7 separate regions of the Homo sapiens genome follow, and regions 2, 3, 4, 5, 6 and 7 are each linked to region 1. The links are contacts of gene promoters, found by promoter capture Hi-C in blood cells and fetal thymus (Javierre and others, 2016). All regions are on one chromosome and are shown on one strand. The core of a region is centred on a gene start or on the middle of the fragment in contact, and the rest is flanking DNA. Distances in the headings are between cores, read along the strand shown.

Evidence for each region. The method cuts DNA at HindIII sites, captures the fragments that hold promoters and counts their contacts. A CHiCAGO score of 5 or more calls a contact.
Region 2: a fragment that was not itself captured here is called in contact with the fragment with the promoter of TTC32 in region 1 in 1 of 17 cell types (total CD8 T cells); the score reaches 6.7 in total CD8 T cells.
Region 3: a fragment that was not itself captured here is called in contact with the fragment with the promoter of TTC32 in region 1 in 1 of 17 cell types (total B cells); the score reaches 7.6 in total B cells.
Region 4: a contact is called between a fragment that was not itself captured here and the fragment with the promoter of TTC32 in region 1, in 7 of 17 cell types (total CD8 T cells, naive CD8 T cells, neutrophils and 4 more). The highest score is 8.0, in total CD8 T cells.
Region 5: a contact is called between a fragment that was not itself captured here and the fragment with the promoter of TTC32 in region 1, in 1 of 17 cell types (total B cells). The highest score is 5.5, in total B cells.
Region 6: a contact is called between a fragment that was not itself captured here and the fragment with the promoter of TTC32 in region 1, in 2 of 17 cell types (naive CD8 T cells and fetal thymus). The highest score is 7.0, in naive CD8 T cells.
Region 7: a fragment that was not itself captured here is called in contact with the fragment with the promoter of TTC32 in region 1 in 1 of 17 cell types (total CD8 T cells); the score reaches 5.5 in total CD8 T cells.

The regions. Positions count from the first base shown.
Region 1 is chr2:19,900,568-19,903,273 of GRCh38, forward strand. TTC32 (tetratricopeptide repeat domain 32) reads right to left here and starts at 1,416. Exons shown (of 3, transcript NM_001008237.3): 1 at 1,139-1,416. The coding sequence starts at 1,287. RefSeq lists enhancers at 377-1,258, 509-698, 839-898, 979-1,078, 1,259-2,139 and 1 more. The HindIII fragment of the contact is 3,134 bases long and covers 1-2,541 here.
Region 2 is chr2:20,641,717-20,644,416 of GRCh38, forward strand. All of the region lies in intron 2 of HS1BP3 (HCLS1 binding protein 3), which reads right to left. Among named protein-coding and RNA genes, the nearest start is that of HS1BP3, 8.0 kb to the right of the region's middle. RefSeq lists an enhancer at 965-1,094. The HindIII fragment of the contact is 448 bases long and covers 1,174-1,621 here.
Region 3 is chr2:20,673,875-20,676,624 of GRCh38, forward strand. GDF7 (growth differentiation factor 7) reads left to right here. Exons shown (of 2, transcript NM_182828.4): 2 at 1-2,750. Among named protein-coding and RNA genes, the nearest start is that of GDF7, 8.1 kb to the left of the region's middle. RefSeq lists enhancers at 1,851-1,970, 2,361-2,420, 2,431-2,530. The HindIII fragment of the contact is 3,834 bases long and covers 1-2,750 here.
Region 4 is chr2:19,369,057-19,371,920 of GRCh38, forward strand. No RefSeq gene overlaps it. Among named protein-coding and RNA genes, the nearest start is that of OSR1, 12 kb to the left of the region's middle. RefSeq lists a silencer at 372-666. The HindIII fragment of the contact is 2,715 bases long and covers 11-2,725 here.
Region 5 is chr2:20,423,362-20,426,186 of GRCh38, forward strand. It overlaps LOC105373465 (a long non-coding RNA gene), which reads right to left and starts at 1,584. Exons shown (of 5, transcript XR_001739317.2): 1 at 1,391-1,584; 2 at 1-1,178. RefSeq lists enhancers at 1,479-1,638, 1,699-1,748. The HindIII fragment of the contact is 1,601 bases long and covers 532-2,132 here.
Region 6 is chr2:19,331,188-19,333,928 of GRCh38, forward strand. No RefSeq gene overlaps it. Among named protein-coding and RNA genes, the nearest start is that of MIR4757, 16 kb to the right of the region's middle. The HindIII fragment of the contact is 9,961 bases long and covers 1-2,741 here.
Region 7 is chr2:20,444,132-20,446,831 of GRCh38, forward strand. No RefSeq gene overlaps it. Among named protein-coding and RNA genes, the nearest start is that of RHOB, 1.6 kb to the right of the region's middle. RefSeq lists a silencer at 2,652-2,700. The HindIII fragment of the contact is 1,836 bases long and covers 376-2,211 here.

The sequences.
Region 1 (2,706 bases), core at 166-2,665:
ATCCTGATCCACTCCATACCATCAACAAGCCCAGTCGAGGCAAGACTTGGAGTAAAAACAAATGCTACACATCCAGGCACAAGCCGAAAAGATGCTTTGGGCAAGCAGACAGTAACAGGTGAAGCCGCTCACATCACAAAGAGAAAGTCAGCGAATCGTTATGTGCTTCCTGGTGAAAGTACACACACCCACCTAAAAAGTATTCTTGCCATGATATTGAATCTGAATTCAATTGGATCAAACCTCAAGGTTTAACCACCAATTCACAGCAATATGAGACAGATGACCACATTAAACGACAGAAGAGATTCAGTCAGCAAGTCCAAAACACGGAAATTCAAAGGACACAAGAATCGGTTTCCTCAACAAATAAAGAGGGGAAGGTGGAGAAGAGACTTAAAAAGACTTGATGTGTATCCTGACTTGAACTAACTGCGAAAAGGGAACCAAAGAACAAAACACCTTATTAGTCGATCAGAATGGTTCCAACACTGACGACTTGATATTAAGTAACTATGTGATGATGACATGGTGGTTCCTTCTGAAACATCCATGGATGAATACAATAGGTAAACTGATAATGCTTAAGCCAAGTGATAAACACCTAGACGTTCGTTATGCTCTCTTCCACATATTTAAACGTTTTTCACAAGTGAAAAACACCACCAAGAGCCTGCGCCGTGACACTGAGATGGGAGTCGCGGTACTGTGGCCCTACGCAGCCGTGACCCCTTCCCTTCCCAGGTCGCGGATTTCCCGCCAGCTAAAATCACGAGTGGAAAATTCCTATCTGTCCTAAGTCTCTGGGTGCGAATGAGGAACGTGGAAGGAGAGACGGCGGGGTGAGAGGCGGCGGCCCGCGCCCGAGGATCGCGCAGAGGGCTTGGTTCCCGGAAATCTCTCCGCACCGTCGCGGCAGCTGGCTCCTCACGGGTGGGCTTCTCCCCGCGTTCTCCGCCGCCCTCGTCCTAGGCCTCGCCTAGGCCTTTCTAGAAAGACGAACGTCCGCCCGCTCAGTCCTAGTGCTGGGTTATGACAAGCGCCGACCGTGAGCTCCAGAGGCAAAGATAGGAGCCCAAACAACCCCAACGTCGCCTCCACCCGGGGTCGCCGCGGCCCCAGGTCTCGCGATAGTTACCTCCCGGGACTCTCGTCGCTGGAGGCCGCGCAAGCGCACCGGCGAATGTAAGCGGAGTACAGTGCCTCGGCCTCCGCGTACTCTCCATTGTTGAAATGAGCCTGGGCGAGTGTTAGGGTTGCGTGGCTTTCTTGCCGCTGTCCTTCCATAGCAGCCAAGGCCTAGTTTTCGGTGTAGAATGGGGGTTGACCTCCGAGCGGTTAGAGGTGGCACCACAAAGCCACTTCCACACCCTGGAATCTACCTTGACAGCCAACCTTGGCGCTAGGTTTGTGCCTTATGGGGATCCGTCGTCTCGCGAGATAACGGTTCCGCTGCTGGCGGGGCGTTTGCAGTGGCCCTTGTGAACTATGTTTCTGCCGTTACCAGTGTTGGACCCGCCTTCCTCTTTTCCTAGAAAAGGCGCAGATGCGTGGTCGCAAACTGATTTCCAAGTCCGTTGTCTGATGCTGCGAGACACTATCCGTTTGTTACAGCGAATTGGGGGCCGATGACGCTGGAGGTGGAAGAAGCCGCGGTTCTGTTTCTTAATGGCGAATTAGCCTGCGGACGTCCTGTCATTCCCTTGCCTTTTAGCGTCCCAACTTAGCAAAACTCCGCGTTTAGGGTGTTCTGAGTAGGCTTTGTCTACCCTGAAACGCTTTGTGTCGACATTCCACCAGGTCTGTTCCACGGTCCAAACTTCTCTACCTTTTTTGACCCTCTAGAATTGTGTTACGATTAGTAGTATATTGTGTCGAGAGTCTGGGATCTTTGATGTTAGTTATATTCCCTGGCTGTTTATGCCAAAGGGAAATCCAAATAGTAATTTATTACGTACATTACGTATAATTCAAATTAAAATTTTGTAAGAACAGTTGCCAACCACGCTACCCTACATGCCTGCTGTGTATCTTCTCGGCGTCCCTCGATTCTGTTTTGCTTCCCAAAGTACTTGAGCCCTTTCCGTCATAAAAAGTAAAGATGAAAAATATATTTGGAGCATGATACTTACATGCGGAAGTCTTAACAGGACATAAATTGTGTGCTTTTGGCTGCTTTCATTAGATTTTTAATTTTTTCCTTTTACCACCACTGAAAAAAATACAAATACAGTGGATTAAGGTTAAATTAAAAAGCACTAGTAGAAATTAAAAGATTGCAAGACTACAAAAAAATAAACTGGCATTTCTGGTGTAAGCAAATGGACAGCTCAATAGAACAAAAGCCCAGAAACATACCTCAAATAGGCTGTATTTTGTAAAAGACATGTAACATATATGGGGAAAGGACAGATTATTCAAATGAGTGCTATTGGGAGGATTAGTTAACCATTTGGGGAAAAATACATTTAAGCATTTAAGCTCCCAATTGACATAATATTCATTCCAGGTGAATTAAAAGATTAAATAAATAAGATAAAAAGCTTTTTTTTTTCAGTTCCCATTTATTTTTGCCTCTTGGAGCAATGTCATCTTTTCAATATGAAAAAAACAAAACAAAAAACAAATCTGAAGTACAGGATAGAACAAAACCAAGTGTGTTGGGGGAAGCAACAGCAAAGGGAAGACAAGATGTTGCAAAAAAAA
Region 2 (2,700 bases), core at 148-2,647, 740 kb after region 1:
GAGTCAAGCAGGCCAGGACTCTTGCTGTCATCAGAAGGCAGCCTTGAGCACCATCTGACTCAGAGAGGGCAGCACTCAGCTTCCCGTGGGGCCAGCGGCTGACTCCCGCTGCCTCCTTGGCCTCTCCCCACAGCTCCTGGGCAGCTAAGCCTTCACCCCTTCACTCACGGAGCTCTTGCTGCATGTTCACTCTGTACAGAGACACCCCAGCAGGCTCTCAGTCTCACAGTGGTTTCAGTGCCATCGCCGTGTCTGTAACCATGTGGGTGCTCAGCGAAGTCACCTGCTGTATACACACACCATCGGCCTGGCACCTACCCTCACTCCTAGCTCCTCTATCACCTGCTGTATGCACACACCATCATCCTGGCACCTACCCTCACTCCTCGCTCCTCTGTGCTTTCCCCATAGACTGGGCCTGTCTCCCCCGACTGAAGTGTGGGTCACTCACTCTTATGCTCCCAGGCCCGGACTGTGCCCACAGTGTGCCACTGGAGTGCTGGCGTGCAGGGGCTGCGGGCATCTGACGCCCTCGGGCTCGGGGAGATCCCTTGGTGCAGGGTGTGTCTGGAACACACATCCTTGGCTCCAGCAACACCACCCAGAATGCCCAGCCTGTGAAGGGTCAAGATACCAGGAGGCAGCTGGGGGGATTTCAGAACCTCCAGTGGGGAGTCACCTGGGACAGGTGCTGCTTGCAGTTGTCAGCACAAGAGCCTGGCTCCAGACTTTCCTGAAAACAGCCCTCAGGGAAAGGCACACGGACCCCTTCCCAGAGCGATTGCTAACACAGGCTCCGACAGCAGCTGTGACTCCAGCCCGGCCCGCAGAGCAGGCCACGGTGGGGGCCGGGCGCCCCCTGCTGGCCCGACTGCTCCCCTCAGGCTCAGACCACAGACCCAGCATATCCAGGCTCGGGGAACCTCCATCTCCAGGGCACTGGCATCGTGAGTACTCCGGAGCTGTAGGCCTGGGCTCCCACCCCACCCAGGGCCCACGTCCATCAGGGGTTCAGGCAGGGCTTCTTGGGTGGGCATCTGCACCAGCAACAAGAGGAGGCCAAGTAAGAGACCCTGAGCAGAGGAAGCTCAAGGTTGAGAACTCACATTTATCTGGTGCCCCCGTGTGCCAGGCACTGCTGAGCACGGGGCAGACAGCCCTGTAACGTTAGTAAGCTTGTGGGTGTCTGCACTGCTAGCACATCCAAGAGCCTGCACAACCTCCACTGCGGTGCCCCCTCCTGCGGCTGTTTTACTCCATGGTCAGCAAATCAGTACACGTTTATATTAAAACACATATGCCCTTTTAAGTAGATACAAAATGCTCATTAATTCTTTGAGTTAATTCATGAAACATCAAAGAGACTTCAGGCTTGGGGGTATGTAACTTTAGGCTCCATCCTGAGATCCCATGGGGAGTAAAGGAGTTCTTTGCCCTCGCAAGTACTTTCAAATGTCTGACAAGCCCCTGCACGCACACACTCCACGAGGAGTGGGCGTCACTGCCTAGGAAAAAGTGGCACTAGTGTGATTCATGGAGGTGTTAAAACACCCTCATGTACACCTTGCATGTAAGGCCGGCCCTCTGCACAGAACCAAGTGGGCTGGGCGGCTGAAGCCCAAGCTTCCCAGAATGCTCCCTCCTTCATGCCCCGCAACATCAAGCTCAAATACTCTCCTCTTCTGCTCCTGTCTCTGAAAATGTGGGTGCATTGAGCTCCAACCTGGATCAAGTCAAATTACCAGGAGCTGCAAAGCACCCTGTAAAGCAGATTCACTCTCAGAGCAATGCAGGCCCAGAATCACCCCTGACATCACACGTTGCTTCTCACCAAGAGTCGGCCACAGGAGCAATCAAATGAAAAACAGCATTGCTATTCTAGACGCTTCTCATGACGTTGTTGAATGTCCCTTAAAATTGTGTGGCTGGGCGTGGGGGTTCACACCTGTAATCCCAGCACTTTGGGAGGCTGAGGCAGGAGGATTGCTTAAGCCCAGCTTGAGGAGTTTGAGACCAGCCTGGACAACATAACAAGACACTATGTCTACCAAAAAAATTAAAAAAGAAAAAGCTGGGCATGGTGGTGTGTGCCTGTAGTCCTAGATACTTAGGAGGCTGAGGCAGGAGGATTGCTTGAGCCCAGGAGTTCCAGGCTGCACTGAGCTATGATCACACTACTGCACTCCAGTCTGGGGAACAGAGGGAGATCCTATCTCTTAAAAAAAGGAAACATTTGTGCTGTAAATTTCTCTTAAAATTTAGTGTCTCTTTCAACAGGTCACCAGAAAGATGCAACTCATCGTTTCCCTTTTTATCTTGGTTGCCAGGAGACTCCAAGCTAGCCCCGTGTCACTCCCTGCTGTACTTCGGGGTCTAGTTCATTTCACCTTTGTCCTAATAATCCTGGACCTGTGTCTCTTGGTCTCCAGCTGCAGGTCCTTTTCACAAGAGGCCAAATGGTAAATAATAAGCCAATGAGTGTGTGATCTCAACCCTCTTGAAATTCTCTCCTCCCTTAGCTCCTCTGACTCCGTAGATACCCACCCAGTTCTCTCCTCTCTGCCTCAACTGCAGACTCCTCCTTCTCCCCAAGAGTCCCTGAACCCCTGGCATCCTCAGGATTTCCTCCTCAGCCCTTCTCTCTGCCTTCCACTTCTGTTCTCTGGGCAACTTGATCCACTCCCAGATTTTTAATATCAC
Region 3 (2,750 bases), core at 251-2,750, 770 kb after region 1:
CTTTGTTTACTGGATAAAAGGAATGCTTCCCAGATTTCCTCTGGAGCAGGTGAAGCCCCCAGGGGCCACTCTGCCCAGCCCTCTGGCATCTCAGTCCATTCACTAGGTGAATGCAGAGGATCCATTTCACTTGTAAAAATGACAACAAAGGGCCAACACATGTGGGGCAGACGGCTTTTTGCTGCTAAGATGTGGTTTAACTAGCATTGCCAAGGTGTGGAGAAAAGCGTTCTGCCAGCACAGTTGGTAGTAGCACCCTGAGCTCTCTGTCTTCTAGGTAGCGGGGGACAGGCCTGGGTGACTGGCATGAACCCAGCTTCTCTGTTGCAACCCCCAGCTGGAATCTCCAGTCACCATGGATGGGAGAACTGACAGGCAGGGAGAAAGCATGTCAAGACTGTGAGGAAAGGCTGTCCCCTCAACCCCAACCTGAGGTCACCAAAGTCTCCCTCCTAAAGTAAACAGAATTTTCCATTTTGTAGGGAGAATTGTGCACTACTAGTTGACATCACTTGAACCAGGATTTCCTGCTAGTGAGTAGGATTTGGCATCCCTACTTAGGGAGCTCGGGACAGGCCAGCTGGGGCCCAACGGGGGCTGGTGCTGGGTCTGTCAAACACAATGATAGCCTGGTCACTGCTGCTTGAAACCAGGGCTTTCGTATTAAGGAGGATCACCCACACTGGCAGGCGGGCATTTCCACTGATTCCCAAACACACTTGCCTTGTTGAATTCTGACTTTCCAAACAGCCGCACTGGGTCTTCCAGAGAAGGTGGCAGGCTTTGCTGTGTTAGCTTGGGGAAGCCAGGCTTGAGCTGTGCTCAGTCATTGTATCCATGCTCCCCTTCACCATACCCTCCTGGCAACGATATGAGGTGTGGATTGTGTGATAGAAGAATCCAGACTCCACGAAGCCAAGGACAGTCACTTCTCCCTGGCAGCTCTCATGGTGTCGGCAGGAGTGGGCGCCTCACCTTGGGTACTGAAGAGAGTACCGATAATCCCGTGGATGGAACAGGAGGGAGTGTAATTCAATCCCTACACATTGTATATGCTGTTGGCAATTTCATTTAAACTCACAGCAGAAAACAACCAGGATTTGTAGACTGATTTTCTTCTTAGAGCAGGGAGAAAAATTACGTTCTTTCCAAGAGCAGCTCGTGCACAGATAAGGTCAGACTTTTCCTGTGCTTGAATCTGGTCTCCAGGAAATCCAGTGGCAGGAAGAGAGTGTCCTGAGGCTGCCTCTGGGGGCACAGAATCACTGGGCCTCGCTGATTCTCATGAGAACCTGTCATCTCAGTGAGACAGGCCTCCCACTGGCCCTCAGTGGGCCATAGGCCAAGAGGTCTGAGTCAGATCGCGCAGTGAGCTGGAGGGAGCGAGGCTCTGAAAGCAGCAGTCTAGCAGAGGGAGTTTGGGCCTGCGCTTACCCCTCAGAAAGTGTCTGGATTGGGAAGGGAAGAGAGGAAGCTGCCGAGCGAACCCAGCAGCCAAACTTTGGGTGAGTGGAAAGTAACTAGATCCCTCTGGTGGATGGTATATTTGAGCTGCACCAGAGTCAGAGCCCACTGTGGGCTTCCGAGTGCCCAGAGGCAGCTGCTCCCACAGCACGGACTGCGCCCGCCAGGGGAGGCCGCTCAGGGGCCAGGGCACCACAAGGCGTCTCCTGAGAGACGTCTGAGGCAAGTTATGGGCAGTCACCTCCCTGCTGGAGCTTCATCTTCTGCCCTGTAAAATGATGCCCTTTCCAGTTCCAAGGTTCTAGGATTTTACCTTGCCTCAAAACCCACTCAGATAGCTTGAAGGCAGAGCAAATGTGATGGCTCCTGGAGAAGGTCCTCTCCCAATCCCAGTCCCAGAGCCTCATCTTACCGGTTTCGCAGCTCTTGCCTGTGCATGTGCATGTGTGTGCGTGTGTCCATTTTACTCCTATCCTTAATAGGTGCCTCATGGATGTGCTTTGAATTCCCCTGGGCTGAGGTAGGTGTGGGGAGGGCCCGCACCTTGAGGGTGGGGTTCAGCTCCCCAGAGCCAGGAGCTGGCTGAGGGCACTGCCCATCCAGCTGCAGTTCCTCCTGTGCTCAGTGGGGTGGGCGGAGCCACACTCAAGCTGAGACTGTCTGAGAGACCTAGTGCTGGGAAGGGCTCTACCTGCTGCTGGGGCCTCTGCAGGCAGAAGGGTAAAGGCAAGGCTGTGCCTGGTTGGTCACCCAAACGGGGGCCTGGGACTGTCCCAGAAGCCCTGGATGAGGCAGGCAGGACTGTCCCAGAATGGACTCCTTGGGTCCTCACCCCCTCCTCACCACCATGCCCATGTCTGGCTCTGAGGTCCCCTTGCAGCTTCCCAGGGGAGTGACCCTGGGGTAGCATCAGAAGAGCTTGTCTCTCTCTTCCTTTTTGTGGTCTGGAGAAGTTAACATAAAGAAGCACCAGAAGGGAGGACCCAAAAAGATGTTTATTTCTAAGTTTTCAGACAGCTTGGCATCTTGTACCTGGAACCTCCTGACCATGTAGGCTGCAGCACAGCTGTCTTCCTCCCTCTGTGCTGTTCTGGACTTTAATCTGTGTGCACAGCTTAGTGCGTCACAAATAGTAACTGAGTGAGGCTGTTGTGAAAGAAGCCTGTTTTTTTCAGGAGGGCCACCGTCCTAGCCTGAGGAGACACCTGGTGGACACAGACTGCAGGGAGAGGGCTGAAAGTTGGCCTAGTGAATCAGAGGGGTGACTGAGGGCCTAGAAGTTGCCG
Region 4 (2,864 bases), core at 118-2,617, 530 kb before region 1:
CTTTTCTTCAAGCTTCTTTCAAAGCAGTGTTTGTAGTGCCAGCACCCATTATCCACATCCTCATTGGTCTCAGGACCTAGCCATTGCCCTTGCTTTCTGTCATACTTGCCACAGTCTCTATGATCTTCAGTTGACATTCTATTGTTTTTGAATTTTGCTCAAGTTGCAGCCGCCTGGTAGCATTTATCTTCTCAGTTCCCTTGGGCCTTGGTGAATTCCTCAATAAGGTCCCATCTCAGCATCAGCATTTCCAGAAAACACAGGCACAATTTGCCTTCGTCTTCAGCTAAGGCTGAAGAACTTGATTCAGCCAAAAAATAACTGTTGTCTTTGCAATTTTGGCCCTCTGGCTGAAAGGTCTATTATCCAAGAATGCCATCCTACTGAGTAAGGTTGAATTTATAAGACACATGAATACATGAACAGACACACAAACACACTCTCTCCAAAACATAGCTATGGGTGGCTGCAGCGTGATGCTTTCTCCAAGAGATGGCGAGCTCATTCAAACAAAGTCTTGGCTTCTTCCCATGGGTGTGAGGCCAGCATTTAGTGGGAATAAATCACTTTAGGTTTTGAGTCTGGCTAGGTGTGAACTCAAAGGATGGAAAACCTTTTGGGGATGAGCTTTCCAGAAACCAGTGGCCAGCAGAGGTCACTTGGCCCAGGGCCTCCAGGAGTGGTCCAGCCATTGCCCCTCCATCCAGGATCATGGGCCTCAGCCCTGTAAAGAAGCAGCTTCCTCCCTAGAAAGACCAAGAGGTGGTGGAAAGAGACAGGCTTCTAGTCCATGTCTCTAGAACATGCCTCTCCCCAGCTACTTGTTTTTGGGCAAACAGCTTAACCACCTGAAACTTCAGTTTCCTCATCTGTAAAAACAGGATGAACACAAGTTCTATGGGATTATTGTGATTAATGAACTAACGTTTGTAAAGTTCGTGGCACAAAGGGAATAACTGATAAATCCTATTTTCTTCTGCAGACTAGACTGTGATTTTTATCACTTATTGAGCTGAAGGATCTTTTAGGAGAATTTCCTCCTCAAAATCAGAACCGTTCTCAAGCCTGGTGCTGCAAGTACAATAAGAACAACTGTGCCCATTATTACGCCAGTGTTGCTCAGTTCCAAGTCCACATTTCTACGCTCTGCTGTGTGACACCAGGGCTGGGATCTGCAGGCTAAAGTTTTCCTCTGTCAGATGACTTTCTCTTAGATTTTGCAAATAGGGGCATGGGAGCAGCAACCAGGGGTTGGCCTCTAGCGATGGACTTTCACTTAGCATCGCCAGTTGGTTCCAATCTTCAACTTCTTTCAGCACTCCCAGAACCAATCTCATCATGCCCTAGGAAGGTGCCCTCCCCAGTGGGGCAATAACTGTCCTCAGAGAGCTGAACCTCTACTCCATGGACTTCCTATAGACTTCCTGAGCCACCCAGAAGCAGCAAGGATGTGCTGCCTCCTCAGAGGGCTGAGCCCAGTCCTACAGGGTTCGTCCTCTGAGCTTCTAGATGCTGACACCCACAATCTTTGCCTTTGTTTCCCCACCCTTTCCCTAGTGCTCCCAGTTTGCTTTCTTGGACCAGTTTAACCCATCTTCTATATTAAATTCTCTCTGTTGAAATGCCTAGTGTGGTTTCTGTTGTCCTGACTGGACCCCAACTGATACACAGATCAAGAGTGCCAGTTTTCCTAGACGATCCTCATTCACACTGGCTTTCCTAGGATCTTGTCTTGTTTTTGTCCCAGACGCAATTGTCCTGGTTTCTGTGATAAATTGTAAAGTCGTTTAGTTATAGTTGTTCCCTTTAACAGGCCATGGTTGAAGAACTTTAAGCACCTGACATATTAGACTCCTTACTGCAGATTTCTATAAATTCTCTTTGATTTAGAACCATACTTGTATTCTCTACCTAGGAACAGAGTGTTCCTATTGATTGTTTAAAAAGAGGAAACTTCTTGAACACAGCTGAGTACTGAAGCTACAAAAGCATTGCCCATCCTGTCTTTCTTGTAAATCTACACATTATCCATGAGTTGTTCTCTTTATAGTTGCTTCCCAACCTGACCTTCTAGGGAAGAAATTTCTCCCACTTAGAATGTTTTATATACAGAGACCTTAGTTTTCATTCTGCAAGTTTTTTGTTACACTAAGGTCTTTCTTCCTATGCGATCCTAAAGTGACTAAACCTAAAGGTACTTCGGGATGTTCTCTTTGCCTGGGATGACATGCTCCTTCTCTTCTACCTATTTATACCTTATCCTCCCATCTGCTGAAATACCATTGCCTCCTGGAACTCTCTCCCCAGCTAGTGTCTTCTCCCTCTTATAAGCCTATTTCATGTAATTCTCCAACTCACTTTGGCACTTTACCACTTTCTTATTGGGCTTGGTATCTTTTACAAGGGGGTCTTGTATTTATTATAACTGTAAATGCATCTTTAACTTGTTAATTTGACCAACTGCTCAGTTCCTTTGTAGAACTGTTTGTGCTTTTTCTTTGAATCCCTTGCAGCACTCATCAATCTTTCTTTTTACTCCAATAATTCCAAGCCTCTTTTTTTTAGTCCATTTATGTCCATCCGCCTCCTGTTCCCTTACGTATCCCCCAAGTTCACGAACATACCAGGATCATTTCCACTTCTGTACTTTGGTTCACATTATTTCCTCAGTTCAGAGCATTCCTACCCCTTCACACTACTCATCCTTCCTGAATCATCCTTCAGAAGCTTCCTCTGACACTCCAGGCTGAGCTAAGTCTCCCTTCTCTGTGCCACCATCGTACCTTGTCAGAATCCCTATTATTACATTGCTGCATTACACTAAAACCATCTTTTACATGCCTGGCTCTCCTAGTGGACTTCAC
Region 5 (2,825 bases), core at 82-2,581, 520 kb after region 1:
TCTTCATGCTTCTATCTCCCTTACTTGGCAATGAGCTTCTGGAGAAAAAGCGACTTTGTCTGTCAAGTTTTGTAATTCTCAGGGCTTACTGCATAGCTCTGTACATCTTTGTTGAGCCATAGCTCCTGCAGTTGTCAGCTCTCCCCGGAAGAAGGTTGAGGAGTAGGTGGAGCAGGATGGTTTTTCTTCAGGCTGTCTCTCATCCTGGGATTCCCAGGCACTGCCCCTTCATTCTCCGACAATAATAATGATTAACATTTGTTGAACCCCTGGCCGGCACCAGGCACAATTGTTCATACTTCCCATGTATCAACTCATTTAGTTTTCACAGATTTATGAACTGAGGTGCAGAGAAGTTAAGCGACTTGCCCAACGTTACACAGTGAGAAAATGGCAGAACCAGAACTTGAATCCAGGTAATCTGGGTTCCAGAGCCTGTGCCCTTAGCCCCTATGTTATTTTGTCCAAGGAGGATAGGAATCAGGAAAATGTGGCAAACTTATAATGCTGATGCCAACAATCAAAATAAGAAGCTTCCAGAAGAAGCTGCATAAGATAGTGTCTCACAGCCATGGGTGGACATGTGACACAATTCAGGGCCCTCCCTGTGGTTGTTCAAGTTGGTAGTGACAGAGCAGAGAAGCTCCTCTTAGGAGGTGAAGTTGGCTCCAGGCTTGCGGAAGAAGAGACTGACTTGCAGAGAGATGCAGGGGTGAGAGGGAATGACAGCGCCTCCTCTCCCTGCCCTGGGTCTTGGGCCTCTGAGCTGGTGAATCCCCCTTTTGCATTGCCTCATTTAATGTCAGTTTCTCACATTTGTGACTAAAGAGGCCTAACTAATACCAACTTATAATTTACAAAGTCCTGTCACAGGTCATTGATTCTTATGCCAGCATGAGGGGGCAGGCAGGGGGTCATATCCCCATTTCCAGAAGTGAAAACTGAGGCTTGGAACAGTTAAGTGACTTGCCAAGCAGCAAGTCAGTGGCAGAGCTGGCTGAGAAGCTGGTGCTTGGCCCCTCAGGCCAGGAGTCTGTCCTCTCCTCCGCCTTGTGCTCTCATGGGAGCTATGGAGAGGGGGTCTGGGTACCACCACCTGCCTCAGTACTCGTGGCTCGGAGCTTTGACCCGGCTGTGCTTCCTCTCATTCCTCTTGCTTTGTCTTGGGGCCTATGGGGCTGGGGGAAACAGGCACAGAGCTGGAGATGGCAGATTCTAGTACTACACACTCCACACCCCGACTTCCCATCCATGGAGCTCACAGGGAGAGGTTCCTGCAGCAGCTACAAGAACACCTCCCCCCCATACCAGCAACCAGGAAATCTCCCAGACAAACTGTGTACCCGGACTGTGGAGGCCACCCACCCCGCACCTCACCCACTCCTGGTACCTCCAGGGCCTGTAGGGAAGCTCCCCGCCCCCAAACCAGCTTTGGGGCTCTCTCTCTGGCCTGGGCCCCAGCTTCGTGGGGGAAGTGGGTGTAGCAGCCTCCTCTGGCCTGGGGGCTGGGAAACCTCAGGCACCTCTGCCTCCGCAGCTGGTAATCCAGCTTGGGCTTGCCAGAGGCCAGTCAGCTCCTCTTCTGAATCTGGATTAGAATCTTCTCGACCCTGGCAGGAAGAGCAGGAGGCCTGCGGTTGGAGGGCATTTCCTGTTTACTGCTGGTGTCAGTGTTGGTCTGAGAGGTCCACCCTTCTGTGGTTAAGTGAGCCCGGACATCTCCCACCCTCCCTTCAGGCCGACTCACATCCCTCGCCTGGTCCTTGTGAGAAGGTCTCTGCTTCCTCTGGTTCAGGGGAGCAGGTTACCATCTCTGGGTTTGCTCTCCTCCCCTTGCCTGGGCTGAAATGAGTCTTTCTAATGACAGCAGCAGTGGCCTGCCCTGTTGCCAAATTTAGCAAAAAAAAAGAAGAAGAAAGAAAAAAGAGAAAAAGGATGCAGGTTAAATTTGAATTTCAGATAAATAGCAAATAATGTTTTAGTGTTAGTAGTTCCTGTGTATTATCTGCGGATCCTAAATGAAGCTGGAGCCCAGGGAGATGAAGTGTCTTTTGGGATCTGATGATGAGCAACACAGGATTCCAGCCACTCAGCCGAAGACTCTATGCCCCCAACAGTCTGCCAGCCAGTCAAGCTTGGCCACTGTGGCTGGCTGTGTCTATCCTGCTGTGACTCCTGTCCTGTGATCATAGGTGTTCCCCCTGTAGGTTGTGAGATGGGGAGATAATGATTTAACCCCACCTCAAAGAGAGGCAGACACTCCCAAGCAGTGATTTTCAAAGTTTGGTCACACAGCAGCAGCAGCAGCAGCAGCAGCAGCATCCGTGATAATTAATTTTATGAGTCAACCTGACTGGGCGATGGGGTGCCTGGATATCTGGCCAAATGTTATTCTAGGTGTCTCTGTGAAGATGTTTCTGGATGATGTTAACATGATGTTAACTTTTTTTTTTTTTTAAAGACAGCTCACTGCAACCTCCACTTCCCAGGTTCAAGCGATTCTCGCGCTTCAGCCTGCTGAGTAGCTGGGACTACAGACACACACTACCATGCTCAGCTAATTTTTTGTATTTTTAGTAGAGAAGGGTTTCACCATGTTACCCAGGCTGGTCTTGAACTCCTGGCCTCAGGCAGCCTGCCTCCTCAGCCTTCCAAAGTGCTAGGATCATAGGCGTGAGCCACCACATCTGGCTGATGTTAACATTTGAAATGTCAGGCTGAATAAAAATTGTCCTCCCCAGTGTGGGTGGGCGCCATCCAATCAGTTGAAGGCCTGAATAGAACAAAGGGCTGACCCTGCCACAAGTAAGGGAGAATGCCTCCTG
Region 6 (2,741 bases), core at 230-2,729, 570 kb before region 1:
CATGGATCCCAATTTTGCCGTGGTCCCCACACTCTCACACTCACAACTTTGAGTCTCCCACATTGTTTCCCCTTACCTTAGGATACCACCTCCACATATATATATAAATAAATACATATATATATAATATATATGCTCACACACACACACACACACATACACACACATGCATATGTTGATGTATGCATGGGTGTATCTGTGCACATAAGTTTCCCTGGTACCTAATTATTGACTACCTAAAGGTGTCTAATTCTTCCCTGAATTCCTAAATTCTGGTAAAGTTTCAGGCACATAGAATGAAGCCAAGTATCTGAAAAGTGAATTTAAAGGCAGAGCATGTGCATAGAATTTTTGCCCAAACTGAAACAAGAATAACTCTCCCATGAGCCTTAGCCAGGAAGAGTCTAGCCTGTCTGTGTGCACAGCTCCAGAGTTGGGAGACATCACAGAACCACCAAACCTACCCCCTGCTGCTGCCAATAAGGGAGTTGGCCAGGAAACACTTTTCCATCAAGCACCACAAATAATTCATCCCACAGACTCCCATGATCACACCTTCTATGTGCCAGGCCCTCCAGCTATGAATAAGAAACCAATGTGGTTTAATTTATAACTGCTTTTTTTAAAATTCTGAAGAAAGCTGAATTCATAAAACAGGAGATAACAATGGAAATTATTTTTGCTGAATAACTACTGTGTGCCAGGTTAATTGCACACATTGTCCCATGTAAGCATTGCACCAACTGAGAGAAAGAAATCATTTTCTCCATCTCAGGAAACTCTAGGAAGATGTGACCCTCAGTCTGTGGGCCCCAAGGTGCGTGCTGTGAGATTGGGGATTGATTGCACCAGCATCCCTGTTCCACTCACTATCTGTTTCCATTTCTTCTGCAGTTCATCAGAGACGGTAACCCAATTTGAACACATATTACAATACAGTCTACTAATGTTTCTTCATAATAGAAAAACAGTAAAGATTTCCTGTCATAATACTAAATGCCACTTAAAGGAGTTACAGATGCTGAATCTGAGCAGATTAGCCAAGTTATGGTATAAACTCCAAGTTTCAGAACTGTATCCCTGAGGCAAAGTAAAATGTCCAGTGGTGGTTACCCCATTCCTCCACAAAAATAAAAAAAAACAGTTTTCTAAAATGTGATGCATATAAAATATTAAATTTCTTAAACTATGTTGGCTTTTGGCTGGTTGCATGTTTTCTGTTGGAGTTAATACCACATGTTAAGGTGTGGGAATTTAAGATAGGCATCTAAGACAGTGAGCCATTTAAGAAAACCAAAATTTAAAAACAGCAATGCTCTCCACACACTCCAACTTGTGTTACATTGCCTTTAGTCCTCACCGTTTGTTTTTTGTTTGTTTGTTTTTTGCTATGCAATGTGGAATCCTTGGCCACAGCTCTGGGCAATCAGAGCAGAGAAGCACATGCTGAACAAGTAATTGGTGTTGATGTGTGTCCTCTAGGCTCTGCTTTTTGGGAGGCCTTGCCAATGTCCTCATTGAGATCATTATCTTCCAGCTTTGTGCTTTGATCCCAGATCTGGAAAAAGTGTGCTTCCTAGGCTGCAGGCCTCCCCCATCCTATATCTCCCTCCTTATCTCAGAGCACTGTCACTGAGTCAAGAGTTGGATCGGCTTCTCACTGTTCATGATCTTTACATAATAGCTGACACATTAAATTATGATGTATCTTCACTGGGCTAAGCTCATTACATGAATGATTTTATTTATTCTTCACAATTCAATTATGCATATATTTTAATTACCCCATTTTACAAATAGTGAAACTAGAGCTATCCTAGAAGACAGATTCCACAAGGACTTTGTCTTACGTTGCTGTAATTCCAGGGCCTAGAACACTGCCTGTGTCTAAGTGCTCAAGAAGTAATCATTAAGTCGATGAATGAATGAATGAAGCCAAGGAAAATTAACTTAGTTGTCCAAGCCATACAACTAGTAAGTGTTGAGTCTGGAGAATATTTACGAAAGTGGGATTTCCTGTGTTCTTGTGTGATGCCCATGTTGACATTCCCCAGGCAGGTTCAAGATAGGAGTCAACTTGGCAGCACGGTGCAGGGCACAAGGCACAGGCTGGGAGGGACACAGGCCTGAGACCTGGGCTCAGTTCTGCAGCTTACTAAGTGACATTAGACAAATCACTTAACTTCTCTTAGCTTCAGATTCCTCATCTATAAAATAAGAACAATAATACTCACTTTTTAGTGTGCTTGTGTGGATTATAAGAGCTAAAATATGTGAAGTGCCTAGTGAAGTGTATTTTATATAGTATGTGTTCAACAATTTGTAGCTATTGTATAATGATTCTTAACCTTACCATACCCCAAAAAAGCACAGCATCACTTCTCCAAATCTAATCATGAGGACTTATTACACAGTCCCAAAGGTGGGACATTTTACCATATAATCAGCCTATCATCTTCAAAATTGTTGTGATTATGAAAGTCATGGAAAGACTAAGAAACAAGTTGAGACTGAAGGAGACTAAAGACACATGACAACTGAATGCAATATAAGATCATGACTTGGATCCTTTTTCTATAAAAGCCATTGTTAGGCAAATTGGTGAAACTTGAATGAGATCTGCAGGTTAGATGGCAGTAATATATCAGTGTTAATTTTCTGATTTTGATTTTGATAGTTGAATGGAAGTTTTTTTTGTTTTGTTTTTTGTTTTTTGAGACAGAGTCTCACTCTATCTCCCA
Region 7 (2,700 bases), core at 44-2,543, 540 kb after region 1:
TGAAAAGAAGTTACTAAAGAAGTTACTGCAGAACACAGATCTATTTGTTTACTTTGGCATTTTTACCAACTGCATAGTTTTAGAAATTATTGCAATATTGAGATTTGAGCTTGGAACACCTCATATAATATTCCTGGAAATCAGAACACGAAGGAGTTCAATCCGTTTTCCGGATTCTTTGTTTTTTAAAGAAAAAAACACATGGTACAAAGCTTTGTTTCATATTTCTTGGTATTTGAAGTTTAAGGACATAGCCAAGTTTCCCAAGCTATATTAAGACCAAGGAAAGCGGCGTTAACAATACAGCTATAAAAGGTTTTGACTAAAAGAAGAAAAATTTGTGTAAATAAGACTTTTCTAATAGGAAAAAAAAAAAGCTTCCAGATTGCATCCTTAAATCAATGAACAGAAAAACTATTTACTTGCTGACAGATCAGTTCCTTAGATCTGAAAAACAAACCCCCGCCCCCCACCGCCCCGGCCAACAACAACAAAAAAAAGCTGGTTGGCCGGTTGTTGTAGTGATGTGAATCCAGTCTGAGGGAAGCACAGCACTTCCAGTCGTCTAAATAAGACGTTCCCTCTAGGAAGGGCTCTAGGCTTAGCAGCACTACTGCCTTATTTGATCTGATTTCATCTGTGGAGCCATATGGGGACCTAGCTCTTAACATATGAATTACATGTGAAAACACCGGGGTTCAGTCACAGTTGGCTGCATGGGTTTGCTTAATGATTTTCTTTTTAATGTTTACTTTTTTTTTTTCTTTTGAGCCAGGGTCTCATTCTGTCACCCAGGCTGGAGTGGGGTGTTGTGATCATAGCTCACTGCAGCCTTGCCCTCCTGGGCTCAAGCAATCCTCCCACCTCAGCCTCCTGAGTAGTTGAGATTATAGGTGCAGGCCACTCTCCTCCCCACGCCATCCCATTTTATTTTTCTCAGGGACAGGGACGGGGTTTTGTCATGTTACCCAGGCTGGTCTTGAACTCCTGAGCTCAAACAATTCTCCAGCCTGGGCCTCCCACGCCCAGGGATCACAGGCATGAGGTACTGTGCCCGGCCTGGTTAGATAATTGTTAAAGCGAAGTGTGGAACTGAGGTAAGAAACCCCCAGAAAATTCCACCTGCGTTTCTGAGCATTCGGGTTAATTCCCCACAGTCATTTACTGATCCTTGTAAATGCCAGGCATTGTGCTGGGTCTTCAAGATGCGGAGATAAGACAGAATCCTGGCCCTCCAACAACTGACAGAGACCGAGACAGAGACGGAGACAGGAGGCAACCACCTCCCGGTCATGTGGTGGGTCCCTCCTTTGCTGAAAAAACAGTTTGCAGACATTTCCCATGCAATGGATAGACAGAGCCCAGCCCATGCTGTTAATACTTTAGCACTCATGAGCCCCAGCATATGCAGCTCCTAGAGTTTGCCCCGCTCCTTCCCACCTTCCTGCTTGTGTTCAGGCTGTTTCTCCTGCCCGGGAGCCCTCCCCGACTCCCCTTTCCCCCTATCCCCTTCTTCCTCTTTTATCCGTAGAAATCGGTTGACTTGGGTCTTTCCGGATCACCGGTACTGTCATTTCATGCAGGATCTACAGGATAAATGAGTTCAGTCCTGGCGTGCATCAGGAGGCTACGCCCCAATAGAGGGGACACCCCCTAACCCGCTGTGCCCCATTTGCTAGCCCCTTACTCCTCCCCTCTTCTCCAGCCTCAAGCCTTTTCGTCTGCTCAGGGGTCTTGGGGTGGTTGGATTCTATTGAACCCGGAATATTGTACGTTCTATTGTACAATAGTGTATATTCTATTGTACATTCTATTGTACAATAGTGTATATTCTATTGTACATTCTATTGTACAATAGTGTATATTCTATTGTACATTCTATTGTACAATAGTGTATATTCTATTGTACATTCTATTGTACAATAGTGTATATTCTATTGTACATTCTATTGTACAAGTGTATATTCTATTGTACATTCTATTGTACAATAGTGTATATTCTATTGTACATTCTATTGTACAATAGTGTATATTCTATTGTACATTCTATTGTACAATAGTGTATATTCTATTGTACAATTTATCTCAGACAGTTCTCTGTTTTAAGAACCGGGATCAGAGTTCATAGTGAAAAGAGGGGCCGAAGGGGCTTCTTCCTGTCCGGTAACTTCCTCCAAGTGTTCGAGCCTCGACCTTCCCTTTCCGTTGTCAAGCTTGGGCCACTCCGCACCTCTTCCCTTAATCTTCACCTAGAGACCTAAGCTGGGGGTTGGGAAGGGTAGGGGCGGCGGGACTTGGAAGAGCCAGTTTGCAGCCAGCCGGTCGCCTCTCGGGTCCAAACCCGAGGCTGGCCCACGGCGAGTACCCGGGTGGGGCCCTAAACCACAGGAGGGGCCACCTCCAAAAGAAAAGAGAAAACACTCTTGTTTGGGAACAAAAGTGTGTGTGTGGGGTGTGTGTGTGTGTGTGTGTGTGTGTGTGTCTGTTTATTTAAAAACAAAACCACGTTAAAAGAGCTGCCCCTCCCCCACAGGCCCGACCACCCGCCGGGAGTTTGCCAGGAAGAGGGGCAATTCTGAATGGGAGTCGCCAACGCCCCACTGAGTGAAGCCTGTCTCGGAACCGCTCGCCCAGACCCTGGAGGCTCCAGACAGCCAGCTCCCGGACCCCGCGCGCAAACGCTGCGGCGAAGGAGGGGAC